Linked DNA regions of Homo sapiens: all the other regions are linked to region 1. Evidence: promoter capture Hi-C in 16 types of primary human blood cells and fetal thymus (Javierre and others, 2016). All regions are on one chromosome and are shown on one strand. Each heading gives the region's core, a stretch centred on a gene start or on the middle of the fragment in contact. The rest is flanking DNA. Distances are from core to core; before and after follow the strand shown.

Region 1 (2,684 bases), core at 75-2,574:
GGCACGCGCCACCACACCGAGCTAATTTTTGTATTTTTAGTAGAGACGCGGTTTCAGCATGTTGGCCAGGATGCCCTGGGTCTCTTGACCTCGTGATCCACCCGCCTCTGCCTCCCAGCGTGCTGGGATTACAGGCATGAGCCACTGCGCCCGGACTTTTTTTTTTTTTTTTTTTTTTTTTTTTTTTGAGACCGAGTTTCACTCTTGTTGCAATGACGCGATCTCGGCTCACTGCAACCTCCGCCTCCCGGGTTCAAGCGATTCCCCTGCCTCAGCCTCCCGAGTAGCTGGGATTACAGGCATAAGCCACCATGCCCGGCTAGTTTTGTATTTTTAGTAGAGACGGGGTTTCTCTGTGTTGGTCAGGCTGGTCTCGAACTCAGGTGATCCGCCCGCCTCGGCCTCCCAAAGTGCTGGGATTACAGGCGTGAGCCACAGCGTCCAGCCAACGTTTTTAATTCTTAAAACTGTGTTTGAATGAGTGTTGGGTTTTTGTTGTTTGGTTTTCTTTGGGGTAAGGCGGTTATCACCTTACACAAAAAATTTACATCATAATATGAAAATGCCCATTGGTTCATTCAAGGAAAAACATAAAGAATTTCTAACAGAATGGATTAATGGGGTGGAAGAAATTTATCCATTCTCTAAAAATTTTTCAAATCCCAAAAACTTTTTTTTTTCATTTTACAAAATATTTACTTCAAACAGTAGCTGGCATTTTGCATTTAAGAGTTCGACCAAAAGGGACAGAAATATAAATTGCTAATTATTAGCAATGGAAATGAAAATGAATCAGAAGTGACAATAAAGATTTCTAAAATTACAAGTCGATGAAAAATGAATTTACTGTAAATTGGTTAACACAAATCGCTGTAGTAACATATCTGCTATGTGAAATTTTTAAAATAAAAACCAGGGCGGAGAAGGGGAGAAGGAGATCTCTTTCCAAGGCCCACCACCCAAATTCTAATTCTTAGTTCACAGATCCAAATAATAATAATGTGTTGTTCTATGACTTCTAGTATTAAAAGTAAATATAAATTTACTCTGCATATTAAACATTTACATTATTCTAGGACTTCTCCTTTAAATTACGATAGTACACACACAAAAACCTTATTTATCTAATTGCCTTTCGTTGGCACATAAAGACAAAGATCGTTTGCAACATAATCGCGTTCTGATAGGTTTGACCCTCTCTAGTCTTCGTAGAAGGTGGCCAAGGTTTCCGTTACCCCGGCGTCCCTCGGGCACCGCGGAAACGAAACTCCATCAGGCTCCGCCCCACGGTCTGCGGAGTGAGCCAATCAGGGCACAGCCTGCGTTGACCGCGTGCCGGGTGTCATGGCGGCCTGCAGGTACTGCTGCTCGTGCCTCCGGCTCCGGCCCCTGAGCGATGGTCCTTTCCTTCTGCCACGGCGGGATCGGGCACTCACCCAGTTGCAAGTGCGAGCACTATGGAGTAGCGCAGGGTCTCGAGCTGTGGCCGTGGACTTAGGCAACAGGTAAGGAGTGACGTGCGTTCACTGTATTGTCATAAGGTGTCTTGTCCAGCCAGCTTGAGCGTATTCATCTCCCAGGGTAGAAACCCGGTATCCCAGCTCTATTTAATCTCTCCTTACCCTAAACCTAAATTCCAAATTTCCCTTTCCGGGTTTGGAATGTGTCTCCTCGGACCCTCCTTCCCGCGCTATGTCGTTCTCTCTGTTGGTGTGTGCCGGGCTTCTTTGCTCCATCCGACTCTGTCCGTCCACCTGACTTCCGATCTCTTTACTTTCCGGGACCACTGGGCTCTTAAGTGGGAAACATTCCACCTAGGAATAACGAGTTGACGTGGGTGAGACGAGGCCCCCCGGGATGCTGGCCCGGACCCTGGAAGCTGGGGCTCTGATGCCCCTCGAGCTGGGACACAGACCTCAGCAGAGGCTCCGGGTGGCTAGTGCACCACGGGTCCCCCACGTCCCACTCCTCGGGCTCCTTCAGCCTCCTCTTCACCAGGAGCCTACCTTGTAGAAGTTGAACACCAGGTCCAGTTCACAGACATTGTGGAAATATTCGTTTAAGACCTGGGAGAGGAAGGCAGAGATGGTAAGAGATGGACAGGGAGAGAGCCACACACGCACAGAGATGGGAACAAGGTCATCAGAAAGAGACAGCAAAAAAAAGAGACCAAGAGGGAGGCAGGGGAGAGAGAGAGACAGTGACAGGGAGAGAGGCAAGGAGACACACAGAGAGAAACAAAAGCAAAGATCGATGCAAAGAGATGGCAAAAGGTCAGGCGCTCACACCTGTAATCCCAGCACTTTGGGAGGCTAAGACGGAAGGATGACTTGAAGTTAGGAGTACAAGATATCATGTCATCCAATCTAATTGATTGCCTAAAGTGTGACCACTATGACCCTGGGTTAGGAGGAAAAGGAAAAGTCAGTTTTTTGAACGCCAGTTATATGATCCTCGCAATCTTTTTAAACCTGTCGTAAAGGTACTATTACCCTCATTTTATAGTTAAGACTACAGAGGCTCAAAAAAGGTTAGATAACTTTCTAAGAGTCTATAAAAAAGTTAGTATTATGGGACTAGGTGGTTTTTGAATTTCTGTTTTTTGCTTACAAAGCCCATACTTTTTTTTAGGGGACCGCTTTTTAAAAAAAAAGTTTGCTTTAATCGTTCTTAGAATAAATGGA
Region 2 (2,684 bases), core at 71-2,570, 1.9 Mb after region 1:
GTATAGAGGGGGTAGGAAGAAAACAAATGGTGACTGAGCATTGCTTTGTGATAGTCATTGTGCCACATGCTCAATTTATCTTCTTTATCTAATATTTATAAAAATGGTGTTAGAGGCAGTATTATCCTCATTTTATTGGTGAAAAGACCAAGGCTCAGAGAAGTTGACTTGTAAAAGGTTACATAATAAACTAGGGTATTTGATTTGAACCCATTTCTCTGACTCTAAAGCCCTTTTTTTTCCTCTCATACCAAGCTTCTAACATTTAATTGAATGAATTTATAGCATTCAGTTAAAATGAGGTTGACTATAATACTCTGCATTGTAACACTCAGAACCAATTTCATTTCATTGATCGTGGAAATTCAGACCCTCTTTCCTGCATACTTGTCATCACCAGGTATAGGTCCTTAAAATATAAACTTCTGGGTCCATAGCCCATCAGAACTACTAATTTGTTACCTGCTGGACGGGAAAGGAAATAATCTTTACATTGTTTTTGGTAGTGGTAGGTGTTTTTTTTGTTGTTGTTGTTTTGTTTTTTTCTTTTTTTTGTCTTAACAGGTAAGAGATGGTAAGGCTAAACTTCCTAAATCATAATGCAGGAAATTTGTCATGATTGTTTTTAAAATCACATGTTCAAGTGTCTAGTGTCTATTATAGTTGAGTGTTTGAAGATAGTGGAAAAATAGATGTTATTCCTCTAATTTCAAACGCTTAAGATATGTTTTCAGAATCTGTTTGAAGTTAACTATAAAGCTTGAGTTCCCAAACTATTTTTAGTAACAAAGACATGAGTTTGAATATCCTTTTCTAGGCAAAAAGCTCATTTCCAATATACTGTTACATCTCTTCTTCATATCGGAATAGTGTAGTTTATGTTACAGATTTTTTTCATCTGCTGAGTAAACTTGGGCATGCTTTTGACTAAAGGCATTTGAACTGGCTGTTAAATTCATCTCTACAGTTGTCCTGCCATATCCACAGGGAATTGGTCCCAAAATGTCCACGGACACCAAAATTCATGGATGCTCCTCAAGTTCGGCAGTCTGCCCTGAAGATAGGAAAACGTCCTATACACACATACAAAAGGTCAGCCGTCTGTATCTGTGGGTTCCACATCCTACAAATGCTATTATCTTCCATCCCAGTTGGTTGAATCTGCAGGTGCAAAACCCGTGGATACAGAAGCCCGACTGTATTTCCTTTTTTTCTGAGACAGAGTCTTGCTCTGTTGCCCAGGTGGGAGTGCAGTGGTGCGACCTCAGCTCACCACCACCTCCACCTCCCAGATTCAAGCGGTTCTCCTGCCTCAGTCTCCCAAGTAGCTGGGACTACAGGTGCACACCACCAATGCCTGGCTAACTGTCTCACTTTGTTGCCGAGGCTGGTCTCAAACCCTTGGCTCAAGTGATCCTCCTGCCTTGGCTTCCCAAAGTGCTGGGATTACAGGTGTGATGCATCACACCTGCTGTCTTTTATTATATAATTTTCCTACCTCCCTGAGGTTTATCTAATATTAATACACTGTCAGAGATTCCTAAAAGATAATTAGTGCACCCAAATAAGAAGGTATGTAGGCCTACACAAATAAAATGGAAATATCTAAAATGATTAGAAGAGTTTTGCTTCACTGTCTCTTCAATTTAGATTTGGAATCCATTCTGAGTACCATACATGGTCTTCTGACTCAAGTTGGAGAAGAGCATTCAAGTGTGGTGTAGATTACATAGAAGTTTAATATGCATACATATTTTTGTATTTCTTATGTATCTCATTTTAGTTTTCTGTTTAACATATTAGCACAGATAACAAATTTGCTTGTCTTCTCTCCTGTATTGGAGGTTGGGTGTAATGGGTGTTGAGATTTTATGAAGCTTGTCATCCTGGAGGGCAGTAATGATCTTCACTGACAATTAATGCCATTCAATAATAAGTCATTTGCTGACTAAAAGTCCCTTAAAAATCTTATAATTATTAAGCATATAGCTAAAAAATACTTTTATTTGGCTAATAAATGATCTAGCTCATAGTATTTTTTATTAGTTCATGTTAAATAAGAAAATACGCACTAATACTGGGCACAGTAACAGATGCAGAAGTTCCTTAGACAAATAAATCATTGTAGCACAGCGATTAAGAGTTACGGTCAGATGGACCTGAATTCTAGTGACTCTACCATTTTATTGGTGTGACTTTGGACAGGTTTTTTAACCTCTAAGTGGTTTAGTTTTTTCATCTGTTAGATAGAAATATTCCATTGTTCCAGCTCAGGCCAGAAACTCTGGGCCATCATTAATTCCTTTCTTTTTCTCATATTTCTCATCTAGTCAGTCAGCAAATTTGTGTATGTGTATGTCTATATTTGTGTGTATGTATACACACACACACACACACACACAGTTAGATCACTTCTCACTACCATTAATACCTTGTCTGCGTTGCTATAATAGCATCTTAACAGATCTTCTCTATCTGCCATTGCTCCTTCTGCATCCTATGACAGACCACCCTCAATATATTAGAGGGATCATTTTAAAATGCAACAGACCAAGTCACTCTTCTGCTCTCTTGAGTGAAAACACTTTTGTGTAGTATTTCATGGTAGAGATGTAATGTAATTTATGTAACCATTCTTCTATTGATAGATATTTTGTTTGTTTCCTAAAGTTTTGCTGTTATAA
Region 3 (2,684 bases), core at 121-2,620, 1.9 Mb after region 1:
TGGCTAGGACTGCAGACATGTGCCACTATGCCCAGCTAATTTTTACATTTTTGTAGAGACATGGTCTCACTATATTGCCCAGGCTGGTCTCAAACTACTGACTTCAAGTGATCCCCTTGCTTTGGCCTCCCAAATTGCTGAGATTACAGGCACGAGCACCATACCCACCCCTCTGCTTGTATTTTATATCACATCTTTTATATTAAATAACATAGATTTGTTTGCTTGTGTGTTTCTCCACCAAATATGATTCTTGATAGCCGGGGACTATCTTATTTATTTTGGTGGTCTCAGTGCATAGTCATTGCTTGCCACATAACATTAGTTCGCTCATTTGAGCTAGGTCTTAAAGAATGAGGAGGGTGGTGTGATTGGAGCATGAGGGGCAGGGGAGTACGTCAGTGGGAAGTGAAATTTGACAAATACACTGATACCAGATTGACCAGATGGTAAGTAGTTGAATGCCAGATTAAAGGATTTGAATTTATTTTATATGCAGCAGGAAGACATTTTGATTACTGACCTCAGTTTCATATTTTAGGTAAGTAATTCTGAGTGCACAGTAGAGCGTGTATTGGAAAGAGGAAAAGAGATTGGAAACAAGAAGAATATGTAAGAAACTCTGGCTCTTGATGTATGATAAGGCTCTTTAGTTGAGAATCTTTCAGCATGTAACCTTTTACTATCATGTAATCTTTTAAGCCTTATCACAAAAAGCCTTCAGGGCTTCCTTGGTAACTTCATTTTGACTTTGTTAAAAGAAAAACTTTAGACGAAATCAATTTATCAGAATTTGTTTTTGTGTTAAAGGATTAATGAATTTGGCAGCACCCAAAATTAGAAGTAGTTCAGGGAGCTCTTGTTTTAACAGAGTAAGCGGCAGACCTTTGCAGGCTGAATGTGGAAGCGAAGTAAAGAAATTACTTGATTGGACTGGGCATAGTGGCTCATACCTGTAATCCCATCATTTTGGGAGGCTGAGGTAGGTGGATCACTTGAGCTCAGGAGTTCAAGACCAGCCTGGGCAACATGGTGAAACTCCATCTCTACAAAAAATGCAAAAATTAGCCAGGCATGGTGGCACATGCCAGTAGTCCCAGCTACTTGGGAGGCTGAGGTGGGAGGATTGCTTGAGCCTGGGAGGTTGAGGCTGCAGTGAGTTGTGATTGTGCCACTGCACTCCAGCCTGGGCAACAGAGCGAGACCCTGTCTTGAAAAAAAAAAAATTACTTGATTGTCATAGCTACTTGTTTGTCTTATTTGGGTACAATCTGGCAGAAAGTTGCTTGTTAGAGAATAGTTGTTGGTTTCTGATTAAAATTAAGTTGTGACATCCTATGGATTGGGAGGAAATATTTGCAAGCCATACATGAGATAAGGGATTAAAATTCAGAATATAAAAGGAACTCAAATAACTCTATAGAAAGAATACAAATAATCCAGTTAAAAAATGGGCAAGGAACCTGTATAGACATTTCTCAAAAGAAGACATACAAATGGCCAACAGATACATGAAAAAATGTTCAACATTACTAATCATCAGGGAAATGCAAATTAAAACCACTATGAGATATCACCCCAATATGTGTCAGAATGGCTACTATCAAACAGATGAAAGATAAGTGTTGGCAAGGCATGTGGAGAAAGGGGAACCTCTGTACACTGTTAATGGCAATGTAAATTAGTACAACCGTTATGGAAAACAGTGGCAGTTCCTCAAAAAACTAAAAATAGAATTACCATATGATCCAGCAATCCAACTTCTGGGTATTTACCTAAAAGATTGGAAATCAGTATGTTGAAGAGATATCTGCACTCCCATGTTCATTGCAGCATTAATCACAATAGCCAAGATACGGAATCAACCTAAGGGTCCTTAGACAGATGAATGGATAAAGAAAAATCTGGTGTACATACGTAGTGGAATACTATTCAGCCTTAAAAATGAAAGAAACTTTGTCATTTGTGACGACATGGATGGATTGGAGAACATTAAGCTAAATGAGATAAGCCAAGTACAAGCAGACAAACAACATATGTGCTTACTTATATATTTAATCTAAAACCGTTGAACTAAAAGAAGCAGAGAGTAGAACAGTGGTTACCAGGGTTGGAGGGAAGGCATGGGGGAATGGGGAGATGATAGTCAAAGGGGAGGAATTTTTTTCTTTGAGATATGTTGCACAGTATGGTGAATATAGTGACTAATAATGTACTTTATACTTGCTAAGAGTAACTTTTAAAAGTTTTCACTACAAAAAAAATTTGAGGTCATGGATATGTTAACTAGATTTAATTATTCCACATTGTATTCATAAATCATCACTTTGTACCTCATAAATATATAACTATAGTCAGTTTATAATTAAAAAATAAAAAGCAAAGATTAAGTTTTGTTTCACTGTTTACATTGGGCTTCAGTTTGCTTACATAGGAACCCAGAGTCCTAGGACCATCTTAGCCAAATGGCCTCCAATTAAAGATTGCTTACACTCTTTTTTTTTTTTTTTTTTTTTTTGAGACAAGAATCCTGCTCTGTTGCGCAGGCTGGAGTGCAGTGGCGCCATCTTGGCTCACTGCAACCTCTGCCTCCTGGGTTCAAGCAATTCTCCTGGCTTAGCCTCCCAAGTAGCTGGGACTACAGGTGCCCGCCACCACACCTGGCTAATTTTTTTGTATTTTTG
Region 4 (2,684 bases), core at 106-2,605, 1.9 Mb after region 1:
AATTCTAGCACTTTAAAAGGCTGAGGCGGGTGGATGGCTTGAGTTCAGGAGTCTGAGACTAGTCTGGGCAACACTGTGAAAAACCTCATTTTTATAAAAAATACAAAAATTAGCAGGGCATGGTGGTGCTCAGCTACTGGGGAGTCTGAGGTGGGAGAACAGCTTGAGCATGGGACGTTGGGGCTGCAGTGAATCGTGATCATGCCACTATACTCTAGCCTGGGTGACAGAATGAGACCTTTTCTCAAAAAGAAAAAAGCAAAGAAAGAAAAAAAAAGAAATAATTTATATTTATACCTAACTTAACATCTGATACAATAGGAACAGAGAACCAAATACTGTATGTTCTCATTTATATAAATGGGAGCTAAAAAATGAGAACACATGGACACAAAGAGGGGAATAACAGACTTAGGGCCTTCTTGAAGGTAAAGAATGGGAGGAGGGAGAGGATTAAAAGAAAAAAAAAAAAAAAAACCAACCCATCAGGTACTATATTCATTATCTAGGTGACTAAATAATCTGTACACCAAACCCCGGTGACATGCAGTTTACCTATATAACAATCCTGCACAGGTAACCCTAAACCTAAAATAATAGTTAAAAAAAAAAACCTGACACAACATAATAAAGAAGAAACGGTATTTTCAAAGGTCTGTTGGCTGTTGGTAATCTATTTTCTAGTCATCAAGTAAACATAAAATACATACTCTGTAGGAACAACTGCTTTGTTTAAATAGTGGCTCCAAAAGCTCTCTTGGATTAGGGCCTTTATAATCCTTTTCTTCTTCCTAAGAAAGAATTGGAGTTTAATACTTACAGTTTTTCTAGAATTTCACCCAACTTTGCTGTTTGGATATTAACTCATTACTCAAATCACAAATGCTTAGAAATAAAAGAGAAAAAAAAGTCAAAATGTTTAACAAGACCCTACGGTACGCCATTGCTTTCAAATAACTGAAGTATAAAATATGGAGCCGTAAAATAATCTTCACAGAGTTCATGCTTTCTTAAAAAAAGGTTTTTTTAAAATGTATTTTTGCTTTTCACAAGGCAAGAATGGAGGGAAAAAAGGTTTTTAAGTATCAGTTTCCTGAACAATTCTTATAAACCTATTTCAGAATTTTTAAATGCTTGTACCCAAACAAATTCTTAGCTATGAAAGCCCTTAGAATAGTTGAATCTTATAGGATATATTGGAAAGTTTTAAGGCACTTTTCAGTTTTTTATGTATTTTTACATTTCAGATTTGAATGCCGTGTGCGTGTGTGTGTGTGTCTCAAGGAGACTTAAAACAGTGGTCTTTGATTTCAAATCTGAACAAAACCCAATAAAGCACTGAGTTTAATATTTCTATTTTCCAGATCATGAAAATATTACTGAATTGGCTTAATAAATTTATTGAGTGGAGGAAGTCAGTTTCAAATTTGTTCAAGGTTCCACAGCTAGCTATAGCCTATACCTCAGCCTCCTGGCTCCTAGGCCGGTGTCCTTCCCATTTTACCATGCTGCCTCTCCTGTTTCATCTTGAAAGAAGTCATTGCCTTGAAGGATGGATAAGAGGCAATTAGGGCATTTTAGGAGGAAGAAAAGGGCATGGGCTAAGATAATGAGAAAGCATGGGGTACCTACAGACTTATTTATAAACAATCATTTATTTAAAAAGTCACATATACATTTAAAAATTGTTATCTTGTTTTAAAACCCTAATTTCTATAAAGAAAGCAAGTGTGGAGTTAGATTTTCATTCAAAACGTTAATAATTGGTTGCGGCCGGGCATGGTGTCTCATGCCTGTAATCCCAGCACTTTGGGAGGCCGAGGTGGGCAGATCATGAGGTCAAGAAATCGAGACCATCCTGGCCAACATGGTAAAACCCCGTCTCTACTAAAAATACAAAAATTAGCTGGGTGTGGTGGTGTGTGCCTGTAATCCCAGCTACTTGGGAGGCTGAGACAGGAGAATTTCTTGAACCCGGGAGTCGGAGGTTGCAGTGAGCCAAGATCGTGCCACTGCCCTCCAGCCTGGCGATAGAGTGAGACTTCGTCTCAAAATAAATAAATAAATAAAATAAAAAAAAATTGATTGCTAATTTTTCCCAAGATAAACTGCAAAATCAAAGAATTCAGGGATATTAAAAGTGATTACTATTTTTATGCTAAAAGAGCGTTATTGAGAAATCTGTTATTCAATTTTACTTCAAAGTATGTAGTTACAATGTTTTACATAAATATTTTTGGTGACAGGATTATCAATATATTTATAAAAACTTACCTCATCCCCACTTGTCACAAGGGGAAGTATGCATTTATATTTTTCTTTATGTGCAGTTGTCATGATGACATAATTATCTTCTTTATATAAAACTCCAGTTGTGGGCTGCAAATAGAAGAAAAAACATACATTATGTTCTCCGTGAAATTGTATCACACTGAATAACTTTAGTCTTAGCTGGAAAAAAGATTCTTTAAACTAATTTAACATTTCAACAGATGATTATTTTAAAGGGAGGGAAAATATGCTACAAACATTAACAAAAATTTTAGATTCGGGGGGTACATGTGCAGGTTTGTTACATGGATATATTGCATGATGATGAAGTCTGAGCTTCTAATATCCCTGTCACCCAAGTATTGAACATAGTATCCTAATACTTCATAGGTAGTTTGTCACCCCTCCCTCTC
Region 5 (2,684 bases), core at 79-2,578, 1.8 Mb before region 1:
GAAAATGGAATTATACACTGTTGGTGAGAACGTAAATCAGTACAACCTCTATGGAAAACAGTATGGTGATTTTTCAACAAACTTAAAAATAAATACCAGATAATCCAGCAATCCCACTTCTAGGTGTCTATTAAAAAGAAAATAAATCATTATATCAAAAAGGCACTTATGCTCGTATGTTTACTACAGTACTCTTCACAATAGTGAAGATATAGGATCAACCTAAGTGTCCATCAATGGAGGACTGGATTTAAAAAATGTGATATCAATACACTATGGAATACTACTTAGCCATAAAAATAATGAAATCATGTCTTTTCAACAACTTGGATGGAACTGGAGGCCATTATCCTAAGTAACATAGCTCAGAAACAGAAAGCTAAATACTGCATGCTGTCACCTACATGTGGGGGCCAAAACAAGAGGTACACATTGACATACAGAGTGGAATGATGTACATTGGAGACTACAAAAGGTGGGATAGTGTAGGGGGCGAGGGTTGGAAAAGTACCTACTGGGTGCAATATACACTATTTGGATAATGGGTACACTAGAAGCCCAGACTTCACCACTATGCAATATATGCATATAAGAAATCTACACTTGTATCCCTTAAATATATTTAAATAAACAAATAAGTCAGAAAGTAACAAGTGACAAGAAAAAAAAGATAGGTGTGATAATTATGCAGCAGCCAAATGAAACAGCTGCCAATGTCCAAAGCTTGAACAATTTGAGAAATAAACAATGCTGTATTGGAATATCATACAGAGTATAAAATATATTTATGTTTTGTTGGAGTAGGAGAACAAATATACAAACTATTTTATTCTGCCCCTGGCCCTCACCAAATGTCAAATTCTTCTCACAATGCAAAATACATTCATGCTGTTGCAGGACTTTTCCTTAGTTCAGCTAAAGACAGGGTCCTTGTCAGTCCTGTGACCATGAAAATTTAGGCTCACATGGTTTGAATGGTGAGTAAGACACAGTTTATTGGATAGAAAGGAAGAAAAGGGTGAAACAGGGACTCTTACAAGGCCACAGTCCCTGCTACAGCACTTCCCGTCCTGCCATTTGAATCCCAGGTTCCACGCAGGAAGCGGAGGGGCCAGATTCCTCCCTGCTGAAAACTGTGCAAACTTCCCGAGGCTCTACCCCAGTGGGCAGGCTGGTTGAAATTTCTCCAGGAACCCCCTCCCATGTGGCTGTCTCAGTGCTTTCCCAATAGTCTCCCAAAGTCTTAACTCATTCCAGCATTAACTGAAAAGTCCCAAGTCCCAAGCCCAAAGTCTCATCTGGAGATGAATTCCTTCCACCTATGAGCCTGTGAAATCAAAATAAGTTATTTACTTCCAAGATACAACGTGGGTACAGATATTGGGTGAACATTCCCATTCCAAAAGGGAGAAATCAGCCAAAAGAAGGGCTACAGGCTCCACACAAGTTTGAAATTCTGCGGGGCAGTAATTAAGTCTTGAAGTTCCAAAATAATCTCCTTTAACCTACAGGACACACTCGTGCAAAGGTGGGCTTCCAAGGCTTTGGGGAACTCCATCCCTGTGGCTTTGCAGGGTTCAGCCCCTGTGTCTTCTCGCATGGTTTGGAGTTGAATGCCTGCAGCTTTTCCAGGTGCGGTATGAAAGATTCCAGTTGAATCTACGATTCTGGGGTCTGGAGGATGTTGGCCCTCCTCCTACAGTTCCACTAGGTAGTGCCCTAGTGGGGATTCTTTGTAGGGCCTCCAACCCTACACTTCTTCTTTATACTGCCCTAATAGAGGTTGTCTGTATGGGTCCCATCCCTGCAGCAGTCTTCTGCCTTGGCACCCAGGATTTCTCATACATCCTCTGAAATCTAGGCAAAGGGTGCTGAGCCTTCTTCACTTTTACACTCTATGTGCCTACAGGCTTTACACTCCATAAAAGCTTCCAAGATTTATGGCTTGCATCCTCCAGAATGGTGGCCCAAGCTGTTCCTTGGGCCCTTTGAGCTGAGGCTGGAGCCCACGTGGACACAATTTGAGAGGCAGCCTCCTGGAATGGTACAGGGCAGTGTTTCCCTGGGCCTGGGCCAGGAAACCATTCAGTCCTTCTAAAAGGCCTCAGGGCCTGTGATGCAAGAAGCTGGCTCAGAGACCTCTGAAATGCTTTCAAGCCCTTTTTCCTATTTTCTTTGCACTTGGTTCTTTTTTAATTATGCAAATCTCACTAGCAAGTGGTTTCTCCACAGCCTGCTTGAATCCTTCTCCAGAAAATGGGATTTTCTTTCCTACCACATAGCCAGGCTACAAATTTTTCAAACTTTTACCCTCTGCTTTTCTCTTTAAATATAACTTCCAAATTTAAGTAATTTCTTTGTCCCCACATCTGAGTGTAAGTTGTTAGAAGCAGCCAGGCCATGTCGTGAATGCTTTGGTGCTTAGAAATTTCTTCCACCAGATAACCTACACAAGTTCAAATTTCCAGATTCCTAAGGCATAAACATATCATACCCAAGTTCTTTGCTAAGGCATAAGAAGAGTGACCTTTGCTCCAGTCTCAAATAAGTTCTACATTTCTAACTGAGGCCTCATCAGCCTGAACTTCACTATTCATCTTGATAGACAAGCATCTGATCACAACCATTTAATCAGTCTATAAGAAACTCCACACTTTGCCTCATCTTCATGTTTCCTTCTGAGC
Region 6 (2,684 bases), core at 97-2,596, 1.8 Mb before region 1:
TTGGTAAGAATCATAAATACAAATTTGGGTGACACAGAACCAGATCTGCCATGAGGAAAATATTGTCTCTACTTAAATGTAAATGAACACATCCATTCTCAAAAATGTTTATTCTAAATAAGAATGCATTGATTAAAAAAAAGAAACAATATGGACTTTTGCTTCTAAGTTGAAGGAGATACGTTTGCTTCTACTTCTTCTACTAGGTACAACTAAAAACCCTGCACATTACATAAAAATGTTGAGCAAGTGACATCTGTTTCCTACCACAAGAAGCAGTAGACTCACAATGTCAATTCAGGAATTGGAACAGTTTGCAGGTATTGGAGTCTTCAACTGCTCTGAACCGAATGGTTTTGTTCTCCCCAAATTCATATGTTGAAGCCCTAATCCCAAAGGTAATGGTATTTGGAAGTGGGGCCTTTACCTATGAGGGTGGGGCCTCCAAGATGAGACTAGTACTCCTGTAAGTAGATGAAGGGACCAAAGCTTCCTCTTCTCCAATACACTCCTCACCCCAGCATATGAAGATACAGTGAGAAGGCAACCTTCTGTGAACCAAGAACCTGACCATGCTGGCACCCTGATCTTGGACTTCGAGCTTCCAGAACGATGAGAAATAAATATCCGTTTTTAAGCCATACAATATTTTGTTACAGCAGTCCAAACCAAGATAAAAAGAAAGACGTAACTCCTATAGGCACTAGATGGAACAGTATTTTATCCACATAGAGAAGAGACAGAGCAAGATCAGTTTAAATAGCAGGTGTCAGTAACCCACGGCCCGCAGGTCTCATCTCGCAGCAAGGGCAGGGTGATGGTCTTCACAAACCCTCTTGTGCTACAGAGATGTCTGCTCTCACCACTCTTATTCAATACAGTATTGAATGGTCTAGCCAGTGTAGTAGGCAAGAAAATTGAATAAAAGACATAAAGATCAGAAATAAAGACATAAAACTATCCCTATTAGTAGATTACATTACGCCTACATAGAAAATCCCAAGAAATTGACAATAAAAATGCCTAAAACTAATAAATGACTTCCATAAGTTTGCTGAGTACTAAGTCAACAACAAAAAATAATTTTATTTCTATATACTAGCAATAAATACGTGAACATTAAAATTATAATTGTTTGTAATATTAAATAGGTATATTTTTAACAAAAATTATGCCATACTTACATGCTGATAACTACAAAATGCTGTAAAATAAATCAAAGATGACCTAAATAAACTAAGAGACATACCGTGTTACCGTGTTCATGGATTAGAAGAGTTAGTATAGCAGCAATTCCAATTCCTCCCAAATGGATTTTTCATGGCTTGTAGGGAGGGGTAGGCATAGAACAAAGGAACAGAATAGAGAACTCAGAAATTGATTACAAAATTCTGCCCAACTTATTTCTTTAAAATGTGCAAAAGCAATTGAATAGAGGAAAGATAGTATTCTCAACAAATAGTGCTAGAGCAATTTAACACCCATTACAATAAACTTTAACTCAAATTGGATCATCTACTTAAATATAAAACATAAAACTATAAAACACTTAGACAAAAATAGGATAATATCTGGGGGATGTAGACTTAGCAAACAGTTCTTAAACTTGAAAACAAAAGCATGTTTCATAAGAGAAAAACATGATTAACTGAACTCTATTAAAAAAAAAAAATGGCCGGGCGCAGTGGCTCATGCCTATAATCCCAGCACTTTGGGAAGCCAAGGCAGGCAGATCACTTGAGGTCAGGAGTTTGAGACCAGCCTGGTAACATGGTGAAACCTCGCCTCTACTAAAAATACAAAAACTAGCCGGGCGTGGTAGCATTTGTCTGGAATCCCAGCTACTCGGGAGGCTGAGGCGGTAGAATTGCTTGAACCCGGGAAGCAGAGGTTGCAGAGAGCAGAGATCTCACCACTGCACTCCAGCCTGGGCAACACAGTGAGACCCTGTCTCAAAAAATAATAATAATAAATTTTAAAAAAACAACTTTTGCTCCATGAAGAACCTCATTAAGAAGATAAATAGACAAGCTACAGGGTGAAAGAAAATATTTACAAACCCTATATGCAACAAATTACTAAGATGTAGACTATATAAAGGATTCATAAAACTTAATAGTAAGCAAAAATCCAATTATGGAATGAACAAAAAACACAAAGAAGTAACTTCTCAAAAAGAATATATAGATGACAAATAAGCTTATAAAAACATGTTTAACATCGTTAGCCATTAGGAAAACGCAAATTAAAATCACAATGAGATATTACTATATATTTCTCGGAATGGCCTAAAAAAAGTAAAATATCAAATGCTGGCAAAGATATGGACAAACTAGATCACACGTACATTGATAATGGGAATGTAAAATTATACAGGCATTCTGGAAAATACTTTGATAGTTTATTTAAAAAAGTAAGTGTACAACTACTTTATGCCCCATTATTTGTACCTTTAGAAATTTATCTCACATAAATGAAAATATGTTAATACGAAAACATGTGCATGAATATTTATAGCAACTTTATTCACAATATCTCCAAAAAAGACACAACTCTGATGTTCTTCAATGGTTGAATGTTTAAATAAACTATGACATATGTCTAGCATGGAATACTGCTCAGCAAGAAAAAGGAATGCATTATTGTCATGCACAACAATCTGGATGGATCTTAAGAGAATTATG
Region 7 (2,684 bases), core at 106-2,605, 1.8 Mb before region 1:
ATTAATAATGTTATATATTTATTTCTATTTTTTTTTACCTCAAACTCCAATTTAGGGCTTAGATAACATTTTAGACAATATATTTTATGTCAGAGACCACTGGCCCATAAAAAACAATTATCCACATTGTAAAATAGAATTATTTTTTCCATAAGATAATAGAATTTTCATATATACACACCTTTTAAATTAAGTAGAGTGCATAGTTATGTATTCATTTTCAGAAAAATATGCATGTTATGCATATGCCCACAGTAACACACACACACATATGCACACACACACAAAATCTTCACTTCTATTATTGGCTTTAGAGAAGAAAATAAGTCTTAAGGAGAAGTGGAAAGAGAAATAGGCAAAGGTGAGGGATATGGAAGTGGAATAGATACACATAGCCTGAAAGGAAACAGACAGCCTAAGGCCCTGGTGTCTTTCTGAGAAATTTCAGTAATGTGGCTCATTTTGATGTTTCAGCCTTGTATCTTCCAAACTACAATGTACACTGCTCTTAGAATCATCTTTGCACAAATCTGATTATATAATTTTCTTGCCTCATTACTTGTGATGATTTCTTATATTCTCTTGAATGAAGTAAAAGTTTCTTAGTTTGACGTTTTTCTCACAACCTACTTTTCTCTTTTTATTGGCCTTAAACATCACTACACACATTCTACCCTGCAGCTACTTTGAACCACTTTCCATTTCTTTCAAGTGTGCTACTTCTTCTGTGTGTGTTCTTTTTCTTCTCTTTTTCTTGCACACAGTTATGCGTGAGCATAATGAGTAAAATGGTTCTATGTCATTTCTTGGAGGGAAGCAAAGTTCTCTGCCTTTTCCCCTGCTCCCATTCCAAAGACAACTAATTTCACCTCTATTGAGTAATTATTTTGGCATTGATCTAAATTTCTAAATAAAAGCTTACATTGCAGCATTTTTATTTTTCAGCCTGAATTATTAATAGCTGACCTCCTTTTTAATGTAAGAATTTGGATATTTTTAGTTCTCCAATTGCTATTTCCACCATGCATGAATGGTACTTCTATCCCCCAACATTGTGATATTGTTATATGGAATTTTTATAAGACTGCTGTTCAGTATTTGCATTATTATGTTGTAAACACTGCTTACAACTGATCCGGTCAATAAACTATAATTACTTTTCCCTCCTAGAAACCTTTTTATTTTACTGGGAACTAATAATTTTCATATCTTTACGTACTCATCAGTAACCAACTTTTTAAAAATTTCCTGAATCTCCTCTAAAGACATTTAGTTATTTCACATATTCTGTCCATTTCATCTTCCTGAAGCAGTACTCCTTCTAGTCAGATTTGACTGCCCTCTGTTCTTGGAGCACAGCTGTTGTGTGAGCCCCTCCTTTCACATATATTCAAGGATTCCCTTCACTGCTATCCACGTTTGATTTCCTGTTTCTTGTTATCTCATATCTCTCTTTTTCTTAGTTTATATCCTCATCTTGATGGAGCACATCCTTCAGTATTTCCTCGGAATGCATGCATGGGAGGTCACTTCTTTGAAAACCTGTGTGTTTGAAATTATTTTTATCTCATCCCGACTCTTACTGAAAGTTTGGAAAGGTATAGAATTCTATGTTGAAAATCATTTTTTTTTGAGATTTTCAAAGACATTTGTGCCGCTGAAAATGACTAGAGTAACACAAACAATGCAACTGAGTAGTCTTACTTTAAATTCATGGCCAAAAACTTCAGATGAGCAGAGGATCACACTCTATTTCTGTAGTCTATTTATTTTCCCACTCTCCTAGAAGCTTATTTCACGTTCTTCCTTTCTCTTCAAATATCAATTTTCCCTGTCTTCTTACTTTCAGCTGATAGTCTTAATGACAATTTCACTGAGACAACTAAAACATTCAGCAGAGATCCCCAGATTCATACAACTACATCTATCCATCTACTAGCATCTGATCCAACAACTGGGCCTTCCTTCCTGGTCCCACAGATGTACTGATAAACCATCCATGCTCTGCTCTAAAACCTATTCCTTCACTTGAGCACCAGAAATTACTTTCGCATTTCTACAGCTCACTAATTTTCTGTTGTCAATCAGACCTTCTGCCTTCCATGGATATGGGTCTGTGTACCAATTCCCTCTGCCCCATTTATCCATGGAAAACAATTCCATTTATAATAGGTACACAAAATAAAATACTTAGGAATAAATTTAACCAAGGAGATGAAAAATACAGGTCTTAGAAATTACAGAACTTTGAGAAAAGAAATTACAGAATATACAAGGAAATGAAAAAATACTCTGTGTTCATGGGTTGGAATAATTCATATTGTTAAAATGTCTGTACTTCCCAACTTGATCTACAGATTCAATACAATCTGCATCAAAATTCCAATGCCATTTTTTTTTTACAGAAATAGGAAAAACAATCCCAAAAGTCATAATGGAACCACACAAATGTACACACACACACACAAAAAAAACCGTAAACAGCCAAGGCAATTCTGAGCAAAAAGAACAAAACTGGAAGCATCAAACTACAAACTACCTGACTTTAAATTATAAATACTTCCCAACTTGGATATTTTGACTTATGATTTTTACAGTTTACACTGGGTTTATTGGGACATAACCCTATTGTAAGTCGGGGATCATCTGTATATTACAAACCTACAATAATTAAAATAGCATAA

Evidence for each region. Contacts are between HindIII fragments. The CHiCAGO score rates a contact against its expected background, and 5 or more counts as called.
Region 2: a fragment that was not itself captured here is called in contact with the fragment with the promoter of PNPT1 in region 1 in 10 of 17 cell types (activated CD4 T cells, naive CD4 T cells, total CD8 T cells and 7 more); the score reaches 17.8 in activated CD4 T cells.
Region 3: a fragment that was not itself captured here is called in contact with the fragment with the promoter of PNPT1 in region 1 in 1 of 17 cell types (non-activated CD4 T cells); the score reaches 7.4 in non-activated CD4 T cells.
Region 4: a contact is called between a fragment that was not itself captured here and the fragment with the promoter of PNPT1 in region 1, in 1 of 17 cell types (naive CD8 T cells). The highest score is 5.4, in naive CD8 T cells.
Region 5: a contact is called between a fragment that was not itself captured here and the fragment with the promoter of PNPT1 in region 1, in 2 of 17 cell types (M1 macrophages and M2 macrophages). The highest score is 6.9, in M1 macrophages.
Region 6: a fragment that was not itself captured here is called in contact with the fragment with the promoter of PNPT1 in region 1 in 4 of 17 cell types (M2 macrophages, M0 macrophages, total B cells and 1 more); the score reaches 11.4 in M2 macrophages.
Region 7: a fragment that was not itself captured here is called in contact with the fragment with the promoter of PNPT1 in region 1 in 2 of 17 cell types (M2 macrophages and M0 macrophages); the score reaches 8.4 in M2 macrophages.

What each region holds. Positions count from the first base shown.
Region 1 is chr2:55,692,484-55,695,167 of GRCh38, reverse strand. It overlaps PNPT1 (polyribonucleotide nucleotidyltransferase 1), which reads left to right and starts at 1,324. Exons shown (of 28, transcript NM_033109.5): 1 at 1,324-1,505. The coding sequence starts at 1,345. RefSeq lists enhancers at 1,135-1,284, 1,315-1,374, 1,385-1,504 and a silencer at 2,075-2,134. The HindIII fragment of the contact is 6,564 bases long and covers 1-2,684 here.
Region 2 is chr2:53,761,890-53,764,573 of GRCh38, reverse strand. All of the region lies in intron 2 of ASB3 (ankyrin repeat and SOCS box containing 3), which reads left to right. All of the region lies in intron 2 of GPR75-ASB3 (GPR75-ASB3 readthrough), which reads left to right. Among named protein-coding and RNA genes, the nearest start is that of CHAC2, 4.6 kb to the left of the region's middle. The HindIII fragment of the contact is 1,118 bases long and covers 762-1,879 here.
Region 3 is chr2:53,777,984-53,780,667 of GRCh38, reverse strand. All of the region lies in intron 1 of ASB3 (ankyrin repeat and SOCS box containing 3), which reads left to right. All of the region lies in intron 1 of GPR75-ASB3 (GPR75-ASB3 readthrough), which reads left to right. Among named protein-coding and RNA genes, the nearest start is that of ASB3, 7.6 kb to the left of the region's middle. The HindIII fragment of the contact is 3,119 bases long and covers 1-2,684 here.
Region 4 is chr2:53,794,040-53,796,723 of GRCh38, reverse strand. All of the region lies in intron 1 of GPR75-ASB3 (GPR75-ASB3 readthrough), which reads left to right. ERLEC1 (endoplasmic reticulum lectin 1) reads right to left here. Exons shown (of 14, transcript NM_015701.5): 2 at 2,275-2,379; 3 at 711-791. Among named protein-coding and RNA genes, the nearest start is that of ERLEC1, 8.3 kb to the right of the region's middle. The HindIII fragment of the contact is 4,078 bases long and covers 1-2,684 here.
Region 5 is chr2:57,522,878-57,525,561 of GRCh38, reverse strand. No RefSeq gene overlaps it. Among named protein-coding and RNA genes, the nearest start is that of VRK2, 520 kb to the left of the region's middle. The HindIII fragment of the contact is 1,205 bases long and covers 726-1,930 here.
Region 6 is chr2:57,505,003-57,507,686 of GRCh38, reverse strand. No RefSeq gene overlaps it. Among named protein-coding and RNA genes, the nearest start is that of VRK2, 540 kb to the left of the region's middle. The HindIII fragment of the contact is 1,710 bases long and covers 492-2,201 here.
Region 7 is chr2:57,484,020-57,486,703 of GRCh38, reverse strand. No RefSeq gene overlaps it. Among named protein-coding and RNA genes, the nearest start is that of VRK2, 560 kb to the left of the region's middle. The HindIII fragment of the contact is 872 bases long and covers 920-1,791 here.